Linked DNA regions of Homo sapiens: regions 1, 2 and 4 are each linked to region 3. Evidence: promoter capture Hi-C in human tissues and cell types (Jung and others, 2019). All regions are on one chromosome and are shown on one strand. Each heading gives the region's core, a stretch centred on a gene start or on the middle of the fragment in contact. The rest is flanking DNA. Distances are from core to core; before and after follow the strand shown.

Region 1 (3,276 bases), core at 662-3,161, 1.7 Mb after region 3:
CAAGGGGCTGCTGATGGGGACTTCTTGCTGGTGGGGACTCTGCAGCATCCTGATACAGCACAGGGCATCATGTGGCAAGGGGGCTGATGGTGCCAGCTCAGGTCTCTCTTCCTCCTCAGAAAGTCACTAATGCCGCTCCCATGATAACCCATTAATCCATTCACCCACTAATCCCTTAATTCACGAGCAGAGCCCTCGTGACCCAAATCACCTCTCAACACTGCCACATTAGGGATTAAATTTCAACATGAGTGTTAAGTCTCTTGAAGGTGCTGAAACCTCATGGGGGAAACCCCTGATGGGTTTGATACTGGTTTAATGCCTGCCAAGATGCCTGGCCTAAATACCCATGGCTGCAGAGGGGAGGAGCCCAGGTCCCTCTTTAGAAAACTGGGGAGGGCCAAGCGCGGTGGCTCACACCTGTAATCCCAGCACTTTGGGAGGCTGAGGCGGGTGGATCATGAGGTCAGGAGTTCAAGACCAGCCTGGCCAACTTGGTGAAACCCCGTCTCTACTAAAAATACAAAAAAATTAGCCGGATGGGCACCTGTAATCCCAGCTACTCGGGAGGCTGAGGCAGAAAATTGCTTGAACCCCAGAGGCGGAGGTTGCAGTGAGCCAAGATCATGGCACTCCAGCCTGGGTGACAGAGCGAGACTCTGTCTCAAAAAAAAAGAAAGAAAGCAAGCTAGGGAGAAGCCTGGATGTGCGGCTGGGTCACCCTCCCAGTCTGTCTGTGTTGCTAAAAAGGAATGCCTGAAGAAGGTAATTTATAAAGAAAAGAGGCTTATTTGGCCCATGGCTCTGCAGGCTTTCCAAGGACCACGGAGCCAGCATCTGCTTCCGGTGAGGGCCTCAGGCTGCTTCCACTCATGGCGGAAGGAGACGGGGAGCCGGCACCACATGGCTAGGGAGGAGGTGCCAGGCTTTTTCCAACAGTAAGTTCTCATGAGAACTAAGACTGTGAGAACTCACTCATCACCAGAGGGAGAGCATCAAGCCGTTCATGAAGAATCAGCACAGAGCTGAGCTCTGTCCCTATCACCTTCTGTCACATGCCCTAAACTCGGGCATCTCTAGGGCCCTGCATGCTCTCCTCCCTGGAGGCTATGGAGAAGGTTGGCTCCTGTGTTTTAAGGAGCTGACCGTGGCTGGGAATGTGGGGACATTGCCACTTATGGGGCTGAGGAATGACATCTTTGCTGTAGAGATGGAGGGTATAGAATGGAAAGGAAGGGCCTCTTGGTAGGGCAGTCTCCACACGAGGGCAGGTGTTGGGTCTGACTCTGGCCGTTCACACCCTAGGTCTGGGAAGGACTTGAGAGTGGGGACCCAGAGTAGGTGAGGGGCTCCATCCAAGGTAGATCAGTTTGGCCAGACTTTCTGTGTTGGAGCTACGGGGTCTCAGGAGCAAGGTTTCAGGAACACCTACTGCTGCCTGCCTGGCCAGATGAACCTGATTGGCTCTGTTCTCCAGCTGCGTGGCTTCAGGGAGCTGTAGCATGCATACATGTGTGCACAGGGCCCTGGAGGGCCCTAGCCACAGATAGCATTTTACTCTATAAATCAACCTGATTCTGCAATCCCAATTTGTTAAACACATTTTCATTTAACAAGATCGACAAGCCTGTGCCGAAAGCCTGTTGAGGGCTGACACAGAGGTGGGACAGCCTGGGCTGAAGTCTGGATGGATATCATGGGGCTGGGACACACTGGCAGTTGTATATGTGCCCGTGTCGGGGTGGAAGGGTGTGTGGGGTGAGAAGAGAGCTTGCCCTGATGAGATGGAGCCCTGAGTGACTGGAGCAAAGTGAAGGAGTCCCATCTGCCCCTTCACACCTGTCCACTGAGGCTCTGGTCAGCGAGGCCAGGGGGAGGCCATCTCTGTGATGGGGGCCATGGAGGCAGCTGGGCTCCCCTGGGGCTGTGGCCCCAGCTCAGGAGGCCTCACTCCCTCTCCAAGTCCTCCCTTAGTTTTTGTGCCAGATCTCAAGTTGGCAGCAACTCCTTCTGCATCCGTGAAGACCAGGGAGGGATTCTGCCTTCATAACACAGCCCTGAAAGGAAACCCCAAGGCTGAAGCTCTGAGGTTCGGGTGACAAGTGGAGGGCTGGATCCCTTTTCTAGCAAACTGATGCCTAGAATCATCACTTGTGTTCACTTTGTGGTTCTGCAGAATCAGATGGTCACCATTTCATAGGCAACCAGTATCTCTGAAACATCCAGCCAGAGTGCACTGTGACTGGCCCGGCATCTGGCAGCAAGTTACATATGTGATACAGATGTTTTCAACTGTATGGTGACACTTTTACACAGAAATTGTATTCTTTAAAACTGTACGCATCAGCTTCTGTATGTGCAATTGTCATTTCTGGGTAGGGGGAGGAACTTGAATTCAGGAGAGAGGACTACATCGCTCGCACTTAAAATGCCCAGTCAAATCTGACCCAGTAAGGGGAGGCTGGGGTGGAAGGAACTGATTGTGTTTGGAACAGGGATTGAGTTCTAATGGTTAATAGGGCCTGGAGGTGCAAGCTCGCTTCTGGGGCCCTAGGCTCTCCTCAGGGAGACTGCAAGCCTCATCATCAATCCTACTAAGTAAGCTTTTATGCATCCTGAGTGGTGGGGGCTTCATGGAAATGACAGATGAGCATCAGTATTGTGGGGAATACCATATGGTTTGAATGTGTCTCCCAAAAAGCATGTGTTGGAGACTTAATCCTCAATGCACCAGTGTTGGGAGAGGGGGTCTAGTGGGAGGTGTTCATGAGGGTGCCACCCTCATAAATGGATTCACGCTGATTACACAGGGGCTCGAGGCTGTGTATTTTATTATAGCAAAATACACATAACATGAAGTTTATCATCCTAACCATTTTAGAGTGTATAATTCACTGACATTAAGTACATTCACAATGTCATGCAACCATCAACACTATCTAGGTCCAGAATTTGTCACCACCCCAAAAGGAAATCCTCACCCATTAAGCAGCCACTCCACATTTCCCCCCTCCTCCCAGGCTCTGGTAACCACTAGTCTTTTTTCTGTCTCTATGGATTTTCCTATTTTCTTTTTTTTTTCCTTTTTTTATTTTTTATTTTATTTTTTTTGAGACGGAGTCTCGCTGTGTTGCCCAGGCTGGAGTGCAGTGGCGCGATCTCGGCTCACTGCAACCTCCACCTCCCAGGTTCAAGCGATTCTCCTGCCTCAACCTCCCGAGTAGCTGCGACTACAGGCAAGTGCCACCACGCCCAGCTAATTTTTGTATTTTTAGT
Region 2 (3,159 bases), core at 37-2,536, 1.7 Mb after region 3:
CTAAATATTGTGTTAAACATTTTTTTTTAATAGTTTAACGAAATGTGTATGTTTCTCTAAACTTTCCTGGTGGCTTATTTTACATTCTGTTGTTTGTTGATAATGTTTTTAATTCCATCTATCATGTCCTTAAACATTTTAAATGTAATAATTTTAAATTTTTAATCAAATGAGCTCTGCCTCTGAAGTTTTGGGGGATATATTTCTGCCGTTTATTGTTTGTGCTGATTTTCAGTCACAGTGTCTTATTTTATTATTTGTTTTGTAATGTTTAAGTTTTGGACTTCTGTTTGGCTCATCTTCATCTGTGGGGAATGTGAGGGAACTGGGATCTCCAAAAGACATTTGCTTAGTTTCTAATTTCAGAGTGTATTGAATAAATATTTTGAGTAATCTTTTTCACTGGAAATTTCGTTTTATTCCAGTCCTCCTGTGAATATCCTGTTGTTTTGATTACTCTTCAATGCCACTCTCCTTAGAAGATGTACCTCATTCCGTGTGCATTTCGATATGTGGAAGTGTGTTGGGAGGTGGGGTCCCAAATTATTCATTCATTCTTCCTTCGTTTCATTCAGTATGCAAGCAGTCTCCTAAGTAGGCACTCTGAGTGATAAACTCCATGAGATGTAGTTTCTATCCTCAAAAAATACCGCCTTTGGTAGGGATAAAGTAAATAGACCTTAATATAGCTCTTGGACGAGCAGCCCTTGAATAAGTGGTCAAATAAATTTGTTGCAAATAAATACTTTCAGTCATTGTGTTTTAAGAATTATCATTTGTATGCATTGAGGAGAACTTCTACAGCTATTTGTCTTCAGAAAGGTTTTTTCTTTGTATTTCGAAGAATTTTGGCCTTAAAATTTCCAGCTTATTTTCAGACATTCATATCCATTCTACTTAATTGGCATTATAGTCATCAATTGTTGTCTCTTCCAACTCTGAGGGAATTGTCATAAAGGGAATTGTTCAGAAATATGTGTTTCCAAGCACTTGTTCACATATTTGTCTGGATCACATCTATCTGTTCTCTCGACGGCTTTCTTTAGTCGCACCTAAATGTTCCAAGACAAGGGTTGTGTCATTATTTGTATCTCTAGTGCTATTGCTTTTGACACATAGTCAAGGCTTCTCAACAGAAGTGTATCCAATTGGAATTTTTTCTCACCCTCGAAGAGCCAATTCCTTCACTAACGCAGACAAAAGGGGCGGGGGGCTCAGGCGCTGAGGATTCTGGGCACTGTAGTTCCGACGCTCCGGCTGCGCAGGCGCAATGCCCTGCCTGGAGGCCGGCACCGCCGAGCCGCCGCCATTGCTGGAAGCGTTCCCGCCCTGCTCTGCGAGTTCCCTCAGTTGTCCTCAGTTCGGCCGCCAGGTACTCGTTGTCCCGGGCGCCTGGCCTCGGTTGCCCGCCGCCCCTCCCTTGGCGCTTGGCTCCCGGCGGCGTCCGGGGCGTGGCCGTTCCCTCTAGAGCCCCTGTCCCTGAGCGGACCCGCCCACTCCTGAGAGGCGATTGGGGCTGGGCCTCCTTCCCGAGTGTGGGTTCAGTCTCCAGCTGGCCTCCCTCACAGGTAGGGCCGCGTGCCCTATGCGGCCTCCTAGTCCGGGTCCAAACCCGGGAACCCCCTCCCTGCGGGCCTGGCGGCGCTGGGGTTAAAAAGAGCCGGGCGCAGGGCGCAGGGAGTCGAGTAGGGCGGGCGGGCCCCTGACCCGACTTTCCCGGTCTTCCCAGCCCCGCGCCTTGCAGGCCCTGAGGAGGGCATACCCGAAGTGGGTAGAGGAGAGCAGTTAGGGAAAGAAGGCGAGGTTGGCAGGAGCATATCCGCTCTGGCTTCTGAACTGGCAGGGATGGAACTAGGTTCCACATCGGGGGACCTGCGCTACTCAGTAACCGAGGCAGCTTTTCCTGAAATGTCACATTTCAAATACTGTAATCACCTTTTAATCACTTGTCACTCCCTGACATGACAATGGTATTATTGCATTGGTTGGGAAATGCTGGACTGGTACATGGCGCTGAGATTCTCAGCAAAAACATGGACCCTTCATTATTTCTAAATAACTGCACTGGCCAAGGAAGCAAAACAAGTAAAGTTTCTCCTTAAGTCTCTGGATACGTTTGCAATAGTTGGAAAGACAGAGCTTGTAAATAGGGAAATTATAACTGGGGAATAGTGGCCTAGATATCTTCTGCATAATGACAAAGGGGACAGTAGAAACATATAAGGTGGCTACTGTCATGTACTAATAGCTGATTCGTTGTGCTCAAGTGACTTGCCTGTGGTCACAGTTTTACGGTAGCCAAAGCAGGGTTAGAACCTGGGGATGTGGCCAGCCACTCTGGGATTTTATTCCTATTCCACACTCCTATGTATAGGTAGATACTTCTTCTTGTCTGCTTGGAGAGTACAGAAAAGCAGAAAGAAGGGTAAACATCACAGCCCCAGGTCTCAGAGGTCTCAGTAGAGTTTTGGGTTACTCAGTCTTTTTTTCTATGCATTACATTTGCACAATTGAGATCAAGCTGAATATATTAAATGTTAAATATTGTTTATTCTAATTATAAAATAAAACAAGGGATTTATTGTAGTTTGGTTGTTAAACATATGTTACGAGCATAATCTACATAATCTACATAAAGTATTGCCAAAGAGTTTATTAATATTTACAAATATTTTAAAAATGATGACTCAGCTCACTCTTGATAAATGTTAAAGATGCAGAAAACCATTACTCTAGACCTTCGGAATTGAAAATGCCTTATGTTGCTCTTTGTAGGTCTGCTTTAGTGTTCGGGGGTTGCGGGATGGGGCAATATTCTTGGCTCATTTTTTTTCTTTGCAACCTTGTAAAACTTGGGGGTCAGTGTATGGGCTTGGGAGGGAGAGTCAGTTTTCAAGCTCTCTGAAGTAATATGCAACATCATATATGCATGTGCATTATTTTGTGGACAAGGTCAGATTCTCAGATGGGTCCGTACCCCCCCAAAAATTAAGATTTACTGGTATGCATAGATTGTGTAGTGGTGAGATCAGGGCTTTCAGGGTATCTGTCCCTAGAATAACGTACATTATACCCATTAAGTAATTCCTTATTCTCCACCCCCCTCCCACTCCTTCACCCTTCAGAATCCCTATTGTGTAACAGGCAATATTTCTTAAA
Region 3 (3,294 bases), core at 327-2,826:
CTTCCGATGAGGGTATGAGCGGATCTGCTTCAGCAGGTCTTGATGTTCAATGATGGACTTCTCCACACTGGCCAGTTCATTGGCTTTCTCAATTGCCTGAGATGAGTAAAAGCCTTTGTCGTTGGCTTTCTTCTGGATCTCCGTTTCTGTGTGTAGCACTGTCCTGGTGTAATCCAAGTCTTTCAGCTTTTTTTCAAGTTCCCCAGCAAATGCCTTCCTGTTGCCAGTCTTCAAGCACTCAGAAGCTCTGGAAAATTCGGCTGAAAGCTCCTGGAACTGCTGCATGATTTTATGCTGGTCTGCAGAGATATAAGCCATGCAAAACGGCCTCACGAAGCCACGGGCCTCCAGGTCGTATAGGGTAAGGTGGTGCACGTATGCAAAGGCGCCCTCCTTAGAATCTCCCAGCACCACCTTGGAGTCCTCCACGAAGTTCAGCTTGGGGTAGGCAGATCCAGGAGGATGGCCCACGAAGGAAGCCTGGTAATCCACAGACATGATACGCAGGGAGAAGTAATTGAGATCAAAAGTGCCAAAAACTTTGGTGTCATTGGGGATGGTCAGTAAGGGTTGGGGTCCCACCTGCTCAGAGAACTCGGAAATAAGAATGAAGTCCCTCGAAAACTTGGCCCCGGACAGTTTTGACCAGGGGTTAGCACCCTGACTGGCGAAGGGGAAGAGCGGCACCGAGTACTCCTCAGGCAGGGCCGGCTCATTGTAAGGCTCTTCTTCATACTCTTCCTCTTTGGTGAAGGCCACTACGTCAGGGGCGCTGATCATATTTCCAGATATATGAAGAAAACATTGAGAGGAAGTGGGAAAGAATGCGGTGTTAATCGACGCGCAGAAGGCAGGCCTCCGGAGAAGGAAGTGAAGCCCTTACGGCCTTCTTTGCGACTCCCCGAACCCGGGGTCCTAGGCTGCTTCTCACACACCCGAGGAGAAGAACTCTAGCAGCCCCCTCACAGTTGTAGCTCCTCCGGAGCTCTCTGAGGCCTCATGAACGCCAAGGCCGCAGGCCCAACTGCCCTTCTCTTCTTCGTCCGGCGAGCGCGGCCAGCACAAGAAACCTGCTGCGAAATCACCTGCACTCTCCGGAACCCACTGCGACAGCAAAAGCCCCCGCTCTGAACAAGGCTTAACGCGAGGCTACGGGACGCCGCAGGGGTCAGCCAAGCGCTGCTGCCCCTCACTGCCCGAGGGCAGAAACCGTCGCGGCTCCTAGGACGCCACAACCCGGATCCTGCTACCGCGGCGCCGCCATCTTGACATCACATGACTCCTGGTGTCCGCGCCGCGTGACCCGGAAGCGTCCTCGTAGACTTCCGAGCAGGAGATTAAAAAGTCATGAGAAAGAGGCCTTGGATGGGAGTGTCTGGCGGCTCCCCGCAAGAAGGAGTCCGATTAACCAACCACTGCCGGGAAGGAGGGGAAAGAGGGGCGGAGTGAGACGGGGGCGGCGGGAAGGTGGCAGAGGGGAACGTGCTTGGACGAGGGGCGCGGGACAGTCTGGGAGTTGTAGTTCCAGGTCGCTGTGGGGCGCGCGCCTGGCGGAAGTAGCTGGAGAAGGCGGGCGGAAGTTCCACGCCAAGATACTGGATTCGGTGCTGAGGCGGCGGCTGCGGCACGGGAAAGGCTCAGTGACTGAAGCTCCAAAGGCCAGCAGGCTGGTGGGGACGTGACCGAAGCGAGGCTCTGGTTCCCTTTCGGTGGGCGCCATTTGAGCCTCATCTCTGGCTTCCCCAGGATGCGCCGGCAGCCGGGGAGCGGCTCCGGGCGCGAGGTCTGAGGATGATCTTTCCTGTCGCCCGCTACGCGCTCCGGTGGCTGCGACGGCCCGAAGACCGTGCCTTTTCCCGCGCCGCCATGGAGATGGCCCTCCGAGGCGTGCGGAAAGTCCTCTGTGTGGCCGAAAAAAACGACGCGGCCAAGGGGATCGCCGACCTGCTGTCAAACGGTCGCATGAGGCGGGTAAGAAAGCGCGTTCCGATCAGCTGCGTGCCTTAAGGGAGGCCCACCGAGCGGGACAGCGTGGTGGGCGCCAAGAATCGAGATGAAGGCGATTATCTCCCATTTCTCAGGCCTCACTGCCCCTCGTCTGGATTATTGCAGTGGCCTCCTGTCTGCTCTCGGACTGGAGTGCATTTTAAAACGTAGTTGATACATCTCACTCATTTGCGTGGAAACCTTTTGTTTTGCTTGCGCTTAGCAGGTTCCCAAACTTGTCTGATTCTCGGAATCGCCTCGGGCGCTGGCTGCCCTTCGGGTCTTGTGTGAGGCTGGGGAAGTGTGTATTTTACTGTTTTTCCCTAGAGATTCAGAAATTCATTTGGGAACTACTGACCAGATTCCCTTAACTTGGCATTCAAGCCCTGCCCGATCGTTCCCCAGCCAACCTAGCCCTCCCCATCCTGTGCCACAGCCACTGCATTCTACAGCCCTTGTGACTTTCCAGCCTCACAGTGCACACTTACAGCAACACGGTAAGGTTTGGGGATTAGATTTGAAGTCAGCCCTGTTCCTACCCGAATGAACTGATTCTGAGAGAGGTAAGTGGTAAGAATGTGTTCTACACACACGGGAGGCACAAACGCAAGGGAGGATAAGAAAAAGTTTCATAAAGGAGGTGCCACGGGAGACATAAAGAGCTGTCCAGGAAAATATCTCAGATAACAAAAGTAGATCCTGAAATGGTTTTCTGGAGAACTTTTCTAAGAGCATGGGTGGAAGTTCCCTGCTCATTTTTCTTTAGTTCCCAGGGTCCTAAGACCTGTTTCCAGATCAAGGATAGTGGGAGTGGAGCCAGGGTTGTGTGAATGCTGGCTGACAGCTTTACCTGTTTCCAGTGCTAGAAGTCCTGGTGACCAGCCCCAAGGTTTGTCTACTTCTAGACAATGAAGTAGACATTGAAAAATGGTTCTCCTACGCCTAACTTCTTATCCTTCAAGGCTCTGCTGAATTCATTCTCTCTCTCTCCCTTTTTTTTTTTTTTTTTTAAGCAATCCAGAGGTCTTGTATTTATCTATTTTTACCCTATCATACCATGAATCCATAGGGAATAGGTTCCAGCGGCTCAGGCTCTTTTCCATTGGTTCTCACAAAGTGTACTTCCCTCAATGGAACAGGCTGGCACTTCAGGTGAACCCTTTCTCTTTGACTTGCTTCTTTTTTGATCATTTTCCTTCACACATTTCAGGAAAGATCTTGGTTCTTAGAGTGCTTAATATGCTCAATAGAAACATTAATTCTTTGGGCAAGAATCTAGCCCTTGTTCGCAGCAGTGCCAACAGCATG
Region 4 (2,945 bases), core at 249-2,748, 1.7 Mb after region 3:
GTTTGTTATCAAAGGGGAAGTTCAGCCCCTTTTACTCCCTTTCTCCCCCTCTTTGTGCTTCTGACATGGAATGATGCAGCAAGAAGGCCCTCACCAGATGCTGGCTTCTTGATATTGGACTTCCAAGCCTCTAGAACCGTGAGTCAGTAAAGTTCTGTTCATTATAAATTAGGCACTCTGCGATTTTCTGTTATAGCAGCACAAAACAGACTAAGACACACTTCATGCCCCCTAGTGTGGCTCTATCCACTTGGATTTTCCCCCAGACCTCCTTGCCTCCAGTCTTTCCATCTTCTAAGTCCCTTGACCAACCATCCAAGCCAGCCATCTTTTTTCGTGTGTATCCTTACTTCTGTCCACTTCTCTTTCTACATAAAATAAACGTCCAGGTGTTCACCAGCTCTGTCCATTGCAAGGACATTCTCTCATCAGTTTCTTTCAAGGCCACTCTTAAATAGGGCTATGATATAGGAGCTGGTACCCACATTTTCAGCTGGTACCCACAAATTGAGCAAACTCATCCATGAACCAGGGTTGGACTTTTTCTTCCTCCATTAGCTGGTTCCCCCACAATCATAGGTGTGCACTGAGGGAAGGTGTCATGTTATCATGCCATAAAAGGCTGAGCCATCTGCCTGTGCAGCTTATCCACTTTGGTCTTGCTTGTGCCCTGTGTTAACCATGTCTTTTATTTTATGTATTCTGATGCTTTGACATCTGAAGACTTGCTGAGGGACTGCCCTTACCAGGGTTAGTCAGTTCCTAGAGATCATTAACAATTTGTCTGTGAGTGCACTTTTCAAATGCAAACCAACCAGTCCAGAGCCCACACCCGCAGGCACCTTCTTATCTCTGGGCCACTATCCCCCTATTCTAATCACTCCAGCACCAAAAAAATAAAAAGAATTACTCCTCTCTCCCACTTTTTCTTCACTCCACGCACATTGTACCTAAGTAACAGACAACTGTGCACAGACTTATGCCCCAGGGCACACTAAAATTATTCAAACTGGCCAGGCGTGGTGGCTCACACCTGTAATCCCAATACTTTGGGAGGCCAAGTCAGGCAGATCACAAGGTCAGGAGTTCGAGACCAGCCTGGCCAACATGGTGAAACTCTTGTCTCTACTAAAAATACAAAAATTAGCTGGGCGTGGTGGTGCGTGCCTGTAATCCCAGCTACTGGGGAGGCTGAGGCAGGAGAATGTCTTGAACCAAGGAGGCAGAGGTTGCAGTGAGCTGAGATTGTGCCACTGTACTCCAGCCTGGGTGACAGAGCAAGACTCAGTCTCAAAAAAAAAAAAAAATTATTCAAACTAGCCAATTCTGAATCCACTTACCATGCCTCATCATTCCTTCCCATGGAAACCACAATAAATGCTCTTGGCCACAACTCCCCACCCTCTGCCTCCTGACCAACCCAGTGCTTCTTCGTGGAGATCCCCATGGCATGGAATACCCCCTTCTGCTGGGATCTGTATTACAAACTATCTTTTCAATGCCAGTCATCTTCTGATCTATTGGACTTACTATACTTAAATAATAATAACACCTATATTAAAACATGCCCAAACTCACATACACCACTTCCATTTTACTTATGAATTACTGCTAGACTTGCTTGACCTCATGACTTAAAGCATCCGATGGAACCTAGCTCATGATAAACAGGTCTGGTCAAGGTCACATGATGTTCCATGGTCAAGTTCTTTACCCAGTGTCATGCTAGGAGCTGATCTTTGAATGGCATGTAATTCTCTGCTGAAGATGACAAGACCTGTTCTATAATCCGAGGGGTCTATATTGTGATTCACATGGTGGGGCTTGCCATAAACTCCACATGGTGTCTTTTGCAGCCCAGATACCTCTACTACTATAACAGCTGCTGGGTCATATGGCCCAGGTGGAAGTACTGCTTGAACTACAGCCTGGACCTGCTGCCTAGCCTTTTCCTGCTCTGTGCCCCACTCAGAGCTGACAGCATTCCATGTCATGATTCTTGCTCAAGTTAGAATGTTCTGCCTTTGAAACCCAAAAGGTCTTATCAAGGATTGTGCTTCCTTGTTAAGAGGTAGGAGTGTAGGCCAGGCATGGTGGCTCATGCCTGTAGTCCCAGGACTTTGGGGGGCCAAGGTGGGTGGATCACGAGGTCAGGAGTTCGAGACCATCCTGGCTAACACAGTGAAACCCTGTCTCTACCAAAAATACAAAAAAATTAGCGGGCATGGTGGCACACACCTGTAGTCCCAGCTACTCGGGAGGCTGAGACAGGAGAATCGCTTGAACCCAGGAGGCAGAGGTTGCAGTGAGCTGAGATCATGCCATTGCACTCCAGCCTGGGTGACAAAGTGAGACTCAGTCTCAAAAAAAAAAAAAAAGAGGTAGGAATGTGAAACACAATAATCCACCCTCTGTATTGGAGACCATTGCTGTCTTGCCCCTAAAATGTTACTGCTGTAGTAGGCCCCTGAAATTGTGTAGGATCCATCTCCACCCTCTGTAGTGCTTGTCTTTTACCAAGGCCTCCGACTTACCTGCCATGTCTTGCTCACCTGGCAGATGAACACACTTGCCAGAGCAAAGCCTGGATGCCATGTAATTGTGGATGTCTCAGTCTGTTCTAGCAAAACAATTGGAGCAAATTCTTGTTCAATCTTTTATAATAATCCACTGTCATCCTCATAATCCATATGGGTTTGGGAAGGGCCTGACTGTTAAATCAAGTGGGGATACAATGAGGACTGCCACCCTGTACCTTTTAGGTCATTAAGAGAGGCATGAATCTCTGCCATTCCCTCTGGAAGTGACACTTTTTGACTTATGTCTTGGCCAAGGAAGGGGTAGGGAAGTAGTTTCAGAGTATTCCACTTGGCCTTTTTGGTAGCTCTTACCCTATAGGCCAAGGAACTAATTTGGTTTGCCAACAGTAAGTACATCCATTCCAG

What was found. The method cuts DNA at HindIII sites, captures the fragments that hold promoters and counts their contacts. A contact is called where the count stands out against the background at its distance.
Region 1: a fragment that was not itself captured here is called in contact with the fragment with the promoter of TOP3A in region 3 in 1 of the 25 tissues and cell types used here (dorsolateral prefrontal cortex).
Region 2: a contact is called between the fragment with the promoter of ZNF624 here and the fragment with the promoter of TOP3A in region 3, in 1 of the 25 tissues and cell types used here (dorsolateral prefrontal cortex).
Region 4: a fragment that was not itself captured here is called in contact with the fragment with the promoter of TOP3A in region 3 in 1 of the 25 tissues and cell types used here (dorsolateral prefrontal cortex).

What each region holds. Positions count from the first base shown.
Region 1 is chr17:16,596,247-16,599,522 of GRCh38, reverse strand. No RefSeq gene overlaps it. Among named protein-coding and RNA genes, the nearest start is that of ZNF287, 29 kb to the right of the region's middle. The HindIII fragment of the contact is 5,873 bases long and covers 1-3,276 here.
Region 2 is chr17:16,651,977-16,655,135 of GRCh38, reverse strand. It overlaps ZNF624 (zinc finger protein 624), which reads left to right and starts at 1,286. Exons shown (of 6, transcript NM_020787.4): 1 at 1,286-1,372. LOC124903934 (a long non-coding RNA gene) reads right to left here and starts at 1,244. Exons shown (of 4, transcript XR_007065639.1): 1 at 1,166-1,244; 2 at 1-1,052. RefSeq lists a silencer at 1,377-1,576 and an enhancer at 1,532-2,042. The HindIII fragment of the contact is 17,730 bases long and covers 1-3,159 here.
Region 3 is chr17:18,313,276-18,316,569 of GRCh38, reverse strand. It overlaps TOP3A (DNA topoisomerase III alpha), which reads left to right and starts at 1,576. Exons shown (of 19, transcript NM_004618.5): 1 at 1,576-1,971. The coding sequence starts at 1,792. It overlaps SMCR8 (SMCR8-C9orf72 complex subunit), which reads right to left and starts at 1,277. Exons shown (of 2, transcript NM_144775.3): 1 at 1-1,277. The coding sequence starts at 780. It also overlaps the pseudogene RPL21P121. RefSeq lists enhancers at 1,217-1,266, 956-1,479, 1,607-1,956, 1,967-2,056, 2,004-2,527 and a silencer at 1,407-1,456. The HindIII fragment of the contact is 14,501 bases long and covers 1-3,294 here.
Region 4 is chr17:16,574,663-16,577,607 of GRCh38, reverse strand. No RefSeq gene overlaps it. Among named protein-coding and RNA genes, the nearest start is that of ZNF287, 6.9 kb to the right of the region's middle. The HindIII fragment of the contact is 7,092 bases long and covers 1-2,945 here.